2 separate regions of the Homo sapiens genome follow, and region 1 is linked to region 2. The links are contacts of gene promoters, found by promoter capture Hi-C in blood cells and fetal thymus (Javierre and others, 2016). All regions are on one chromosome and are shown on one strand. Each heading gives the region's core, a stretch centred on a gene start or on the middle of the fragment in contact. The rest is flanking DNA. Distances are from core to core; before and after follow the strand shown.

Region 1 (3,676 bases), core at 631-3,130, 220 kb before region 2:
CTCGACCACAAAAAAATTTCAAGTGCATCTATTTTGCTGTTAATATAGCTTGAAGAACCCATGGCTTGACATGTTTCATAGGATTGCAGCCATGGGAGGGGTGAGTCATCAACCACGATAAACTCATGAAGATGGTTTTATAAGCTACTAGATGCGGCACAGACAGAGACAACAAGCTATGTTTTGCTAATGGGTCCTATCAATATGGGGCCCAGGCCATCTTTAGCCTATAAGCTTCATCCCAGAAACTAGGAGTCAGTCAGTAGAGTTTACTGTGATATTTTAAGGAAGAAAGGAGAAAAATGACTGCTCTTCAGAGCTGATTAGAGTAAAAATGTAATTATATATGTGCATAAATATCCTAGTGATATATCTTTTTTTTTTTTCAATGATTGTCTTAGTCCACTCAGGCTGTTGTAACAAAATACCATAAACTAGGTAGCTTATGAACAACAGAAACTTATTTCTCACCATTCTGGAGGCTGGAAAGGCCACAATTAAGACACCAGCAGATTTGGTATCAAGTGGGGATCCACTTTCTGGTTCGTAGATGGTGCCTTCTCACTGTGTCCTCACATGGTGGAAGGACAAACTAGCTCTCTGGGGTTTCTTTTGTAAGGGTACCAATCCTATTCATGAGAGTTTCAGCCTTACCCAAAGGCTCCTTCTCCTAATGCTGTCACATTGGTGATTAGGTTTCAATTTATGAATTTTGAGGAGACACCAACATTTAGACCACAACATTGAGATTTTATATATATTTACATGTATATATACACACACACATATGTATGTATGTATATCCCGTGTGTGTGTATGCATGCACAGTGAGGAATATATGTTTAGCATGTAAAGTTACTCTTTGCACCAAATGGTTTCAAGACAGCAAAATAATATAACACCTACTAAAGGCCAGGTAATTGGACATTATCCAAATCAGTCATCATGCAACCCTATAAGGTGGAAATTTTTATCCCCAATTTATAAGTGAGCAAACAAATCTCAGATTAAGTAATTTGTCTAAGGGCACACAGCTTACAAGAGATGACGTCAGATTTTGGATTTGAGTTTCTCTCTTTCCAAATTTTTTATTCTTAATCAATAGGCTATAATTGGGTGACAATCAAGAGTTCGTTGGGAATATTGTTGGTTCATAATAGCAACAATATGCAGTTTGTAGGACAAGAGGCTTTAAGGGCAGAGATCTAAATGTATCTGTCAAACAGAGAAAGCCATGTGAAGTTTCTGTGTCTTCATGCCTCTGTATTGGATTCAGGCTGTAGCCACAATACTTATGCAAAAGCATTTCAGGGGAGACATTGCTAGGCAATCTTCACTTCCACTAGGTCAGAGTTTAATGCACATAATACTTCTTGCCTTCATGTGCATGTTGCTAACCCATATTCCTGACTGATATTCTTTCAGTATGTCCACAATGAATTAAAGTTAAGACCAGAGAGCAATATAAAGTGCTGAGCAAAACTCTTTTGAAATTCACAAACATTGTCCATCAGCAGAAACCATGTTTACATTTTTAAAATTCCTATTTTACCTTACGTGGACTGTAAGATGGAATCCAAAGATCCCTCAAACCAAAACTTAGTTTCAATGCATCTTTGTTGAGATAAAAAAAATTGTCCTACTCCAAAGATACTAAATACAGGTCTCATCAATAACCATAGCTTCCATTTTCTGTCAAAGTCAAATAAAATTTTCTACTATTTTTCAATTAGGAAAAGCAGCATTTCAGATAAAAAACTAGGCTTTTGTAACAAACTAGCAAAGTTGGAGTTCTTTTTATTGAAATTTATGTTTACATGGTTATTAAAAGGTTTGTGTTGGACTGCGGGACTCATCTTACTCTGGCTTCTGGGGAGTGAACTAGAAGGCAGAAAACGTGTTCTGTTTTCTTGCTTCTGCGATGTGTATACAGTTTTTTGTTTGTTTTTTTTTTCCTGAGAGCCACGTGGGACTGGTGAGGCTGAGAAGCAAAATTTGAATCAGAGCTTAGATTAAAAAACTGAAGCAATAATTTTCTCCATTTTCAGTTTTAGTTGTTTTATCTTTTGTGATAAATTGTAGGTGAGAAGTTTGGGAGAGGGGCCAGGATGCTACTTAGTTCATTCATAGCACTGCTTGGAACCTTTAGAACTAAGTCGGCCAGGTGTGGTGGCTCACGCCTGTAATCCCAGCACTATGGGAGGCCGAGGCGGGTGGATCACGAGGTCAGGTGATTGAGACCATCCTGGCCAACATGGTGAAACCCCGTCTCTACTAAAAATACAAAAATTATCTGCGCGTGGTGGTGCGTGCTTGTAGTCCCAGCTACTAGGGAGGCTGAGGAAGGAGAATCACCTGAACCCCGGAGGTGGAGGTTGCAGTGAGCTAAGGTGGCACCACTGCACCCCAGCCTAGCGACAGAGTGAGACTCCATCTCAAAAAAAAAAAAAAAGAAAAAAAAAACTAAACACATTTGAATACTAATCCCAGCTTTGTGATCCTCCTATTCCACCTAGAACTACAGTGTTATTCAATTTTTTTGCTTCTGTCATGAAGATAATTTGAAGCTAATCATCCACAATGGGAAATGAGCAAGTGGTTCCAAAAGCAGAAGTGGGTATGGGTACACATGGGAGTGTATAAAGCTCAAAGTCTCCTTATACACGGCATTGATTCAGAAAGGAACTGACACTGTTGATGAAATTTATCACACAAGATGGGACGTGAACAAATCCTTCATCCTAAAAAGGCAGAAACTCAGAAGAGAATGACTAGGGAGAATGAGTCACTAGCAGCTGTTAAGAATCATAGTTAGATCTCTATTCCTGATTTAACTCTCTGCTTTATCTACCCCAGAGGCCAGTCGTTCTCAAACTTCAGCTGCATTCAGATCACTTCAAGGGCTTGTTAAAACAGGATTGCTGATCTACACACCCAGAATTTCTGATTCAGTACATGTGGGTGGGGCAAGAGAATTTTTAGCTCTAACAAGTTCCCAGGTGATGCTGGTCGGGGATACCACACCATAAGACCCACTGCTTTAGGCAATACCGGTTTCAGAATTGAGCCACAGAGGCCATGACTGGTTTATTTACCTGGAAAACCAGCCCAACATTTTTTTTTAATAGCAGAAAAAGCATACAAATTTATTTAATGTGTATACATAAGAAGAATTACAGAGTAATTACCCCCAGCCTGACATTTCCTTAAAATAGGTGCTTGTATGTTCACCTAAAAGGGGCACTGCTAAAAGAGAGGATGAGGGGTCAGAGGAACACATTTTATCCAAAAAGGGATGCCCCCCCAATCCCATCCGCCACATTCAGCTGAGAACCAGACCAGCGTCTTAGCTATTAGTTCATTGCATGGGTTTTGGTGCCAGACTAGACTTAGATTTGAGATCCAAGTCTACTACCTAAGGTGATAAACTTAAGTCAGTCACTTACTTTTCTAAACTGCAGTACTGGAAGGATAACACAATTGATCTCAGAGGACTGTTGTGAAGTTTAAAGAAGATAATGTTTAGGAAGCTTTAACACAATAGCTCATGTATAGTAAGGCCTCAATAAATGCTAACTATATGTATTATTTAATTATATAACTAGCATTACCATATTATTATTATATAGCCAATATGTGTAATGTTTTGACACTGTCAATAAATTTTGAGGTGTTT
Region 2 (3,775 bases), core at 1,035-3,534:
TCATCACTGTCCGTAAAAGCATCTGTACTTGCTACTGGCCATAATTTTTTCTAATTTGTTAGACAACAAGAGTGAATACAGAAAACAATCCATGGGTTTCTCTGCTTTTCTGTGCAGTGATTTTCCCACTATGACCAGTCAGATTTTTCATCTTACTGCAAGTAAAATGCAAGAAGACTTGCAAAAATAAAGGGGAAGAAAAGGGAGAGAAGTGATTGAGAATATTTGCAATTATCCAAAACATGCAGAGAGAAGTGTTTGTTAAGATATAAGGGATGGGCCAGGTGCGGTGGCTCACACCTGTAATTCCAGCACTTTGGGAAGCCAAGGGGGGTGGATCACCTGCAGTCAGGAGTTCGAGACCAGCCTGGCCAACATGGTGAAACCCCATCTCTACTAAAAATACAAAAATTAACCAGGCATGGTGGTCGGTGCCTGTAATCCCAGCTATTCAGGAGGCTGAAGCAGGAGAATCGCTTGAACCCAGGAGGTGGAGGTTGCAGTGAGCTGAGATCGCCCCATTGCACTCCAGGCTGGGTGACAAGAGCGAGACTCAGTCTAAAACATACACACACACACACACAAAAACCCAAAAAAGAAATATAAGGGATGATGAAATGACATGCATCAGGCATCACCTTAGTGATTTAGTCCCTTAGAGTCTACAACAGGTCTAATGGAGAACGGGCAACATAGCTCAGCATCTTTTGGAGTATGTCCTGAAATCAAGTTGCTGTCCTTAACTATATGTCCTTAGTAGAGAGAGGCATCCCACCTCTCAAGAAAGAGATCTATTCAGTCTTTATTTATCTAACTGTTCCAGACTGTTCCAACAGTCCAGGTTCTCACGACTCCAAAGACATGCTGGATTCACTATATCCAAACTTTGCCTTTAATTCTGGTACCAATTACTGCCCCCCAAATTTATAACCAGGATAATAAAAGTTACTTTACTATCTTATATATACTCAAAGTATTACACAAGCCACCATAACTTTTAAATAGGAAACTACTACGTAAAACTCCATGGTTGATGCTTGAGGCCCCCAGGAATTAGTTTGAAAGGTATTTAGAGCTGGAGTCCGGAAACCCTTGTACTACAATTTATTCAACTATTTTTCTATTGTTAGCCATTCCCATTTTTTTCCTTCTCTTTGCCTCTAAAAACGGTGTAGTAGATAATATGCAGTCTTAAGAACTAGTGTTGTTTTTCTATAGGATAATCACAAATTGGTGCCACTGCGTTAAAAGGCACTGGAATGGATGCATATTTTAAAATTGTAATAGATGTGGCCATATTACTTCACAACAAATTTTAGTAATTCACCTTCCTAGCAATCATACATAAGTGCTAGTGTCTAGCATCCTTGCCAATTATTTTTCTTTTTTGCCAACTGAATGGGGGGAAAAAGGCATTATTTTTTTAATTCCAGTTTTTCATTTAGTGAGTTTGAGCATCATGTTTCCTTATATGGGCTGCCTATTTATAGCTGTTGGCCAATTTTATTTGAATTATATTTCTTATTTATAGGAGCAGGCTGAGTAGAAGTATTAATGTATCTATGCTACAAAATCCATTTTTCTAAGCTCTTAACTTGAGGTGTCTTTTGCCATTCAAAAAGTTTAAATTCGTATACAAATATATTTTTTATTTATGATGTTGGGGTTTTGAAATCTTGGTTAAGAAAGTCCCTTCTGTCCCCGGATTATATAATATTCTCCTAAAATTTATTTAATCCTCTCAGTTGTATTCTTCCGTTGAAATCTTTTTTTACTGAAATTTATTTTCGCATATAGCACGAGGAGGGGGCCAAGATAATTCAGTATTTCGTTAATCAGGCATATAGATCTAGAGCGGGGAATGTCCGATACCATTCCAGGTTATACAGGCGAGATTAATGTCAGATCTTGGGAGCATTTCCAGTACAGGTTAAAACTGTCACGCGGTCGGCGGGATTGCAGGTGATGCAGCAAGCCTGGTGTCCTCGACAGGAGACGTTTCCCATCTAGGACCGTTGGATAGGGTTCCTTTCTGAGCTTCCAGCTCTGTAGTATCTATCAGCCCGCTGATAGGGCAGCCTCCCGACGCCACTCAAAACATCTTAAAGGCCCCAAGCCAAACCCCGCTACTAGTAGAACCAACAGTCTAAACGAAAGAGCCACGACGCTCTGCGCATGTGCGCTCTTCGCAAGCTGAAAATCTTGCGGGGAGCTCTTTAGCAAGTTCCGCCTTCCAGCCTGAAGCGCATGCGCAGCCTCGGTTCCGTTGCGTAGCGTGTCCCTCAGTGGGACACTGCAGGGTGCGGGGACAACTACGAAGATGGCGGTTGCGCGCTTGGCAGCTGTGGCGGCCTGGGTACCTTGTCGGAGCTGGGGCTGGGCAGCCGTCCCCTTCGGTCCCCACCGTGGCCTCAGCGTGCTGCTTGCACGGATACCTCAGCGGGCGCCACGGTGGCTCCCAGGTCAGTGTCCGAAAGGCGGGAGTAGGATGCGTTCTTTCGAACGCCTCGGGTTCCGTCAGTTACCGTGCCTGTGCAGTGCGTCTTTGGCGCCCGGTTCAAAAATGCTCCTCCCCCTTTCTCAACACCCCAGTTCTAGGCGCTTTGTAGACTTCTGGTGAAGGCTGTGAGGAGAGCTCTGCCGCGGCCCTGCGGCATTCTGGGCACCCCGGGCCCTCGCTGGCGTTTTACACTGTGCAGTTTAAAGAGCTCCTGCTCCTTACCTGCCTCCCCTGCATTAAAGGCCAACACTAGAAAAAATTAAAATGTGCATTTAATGCATTATTATTAGTTACTTCTAGGAATTTGTAGATTGTGACTCCTAAAATGCTTAGACTGACTCTCCTTTGAGTTTAGGGAACCTAACAATGCGAGGCATGTTCTTTGTAAAAGTGTAGACGCCCTCATAAGCCTAATTTCTAGTTCTGCTTTCTTGCTGCACCCACTCAGTGAAAGAACCATAATCATTATTGCACAAAGGAAACTAGAATTTGGGCTAAAAATCAGAGAACCTCTTATATGTATATATAGTCTTTGAATTAGATCCTTTTATTTTTTTGGCTTTGTGTGTGGTTCACACCATTGCCACGTAGCTGTCAGATGATGCATGGTGCTTGGAGTGGTAATTAATGTCACGGCAGAGATCTTTTGTATGGAGATTTTTGTATCCAGTTTTTAAACTTTTATAATCAGATTAACTTGCATTTAATTGTGCGCAACCAAAAGGCATGTTACACATGCAAATACTCCTAGTAAAATGTAGTATGTCAATTCATTAACCAGAGTATAATATTATTTCATCTAGTTAGCACTTATTCATTGAGCACTTATGCACCAGGCTTTGAATTAATCCTTATGTTCAAAGATGATTTATGAATATAATTATATGAATCTGTCTACTTAGAACTTACATTAAATAAATTATAATCATCTCGGGGAAATTATGTTTTAAGAGGTGATTTCTGGAAGAGGATAGTGAGAATTTTTTTTAGTGCTCAGCTGAGTAGATGGGAAATGAACATGAGTGGATCAGCATAACTGGTCCTTACCAAAAGTTTTAAATTTGGCATATTTCTCTATACTTTGAAACAAGCTTTTATGTAAAAAGGATAACTTTAAGGCCTTCAGTTACATCTTTAAAAAATCAACTTCTTAATTACAAAATGGGGAAAACTTTAGCAGCACACATGGATTCTCTTCTCAAGACTGAGAAGTTTTCAAAGTGGAGGACGGCTTCATTTAATATAAAAAAAGAAAATGTATTAGTCCAAAGACTC

What was found. The method cuts DNA at HindIII sites, captures the fragments that hold promoters and counts their contacts. A CHiCAGO score of 5 or more calls a contact.
Region 1: a contact is called between a fragment that was not itself captured here and the fragment with the promoter of ABHD10 in region 2, in 3 of 17 cell types (endothelial precursors, M1 macrophages and M0 macrophages). The highest score is 6.7, in endothelial precursors.

What each region holds. Positions count from the first base shown.
Region 1 is chr3:111,758,747-111,762,422 of GRCh38, forward strand. It overlaps a transcript of PHLDB2 not described here. Among named protein-coding and RNA genes, the nearest start is that of PLCXD2-AS1, 83 kb to the left of the region's middle. The HindIII fragment of the contact is 3,296 bases long and covers 233-3,528 here.
Region 2 is chr3:111,976,742-111,980,516 of GRCh38, forward strand. ABHD10 (abhydrolase domain containing 10, depalmitoylase) reads left to right here and starts at 2,285. Exons shown (of 5, transcript NM_018394.4): 1 at 2,285-2,462. The coding sequence starts at 2,321. RefSeq lists enhancers at 1,927-2,486, 2,345-2,394, 2,405-2,454, 2,475-2,524. The HindIII fragment of the contact is 3,690 bases long and covers 1-3,589 here.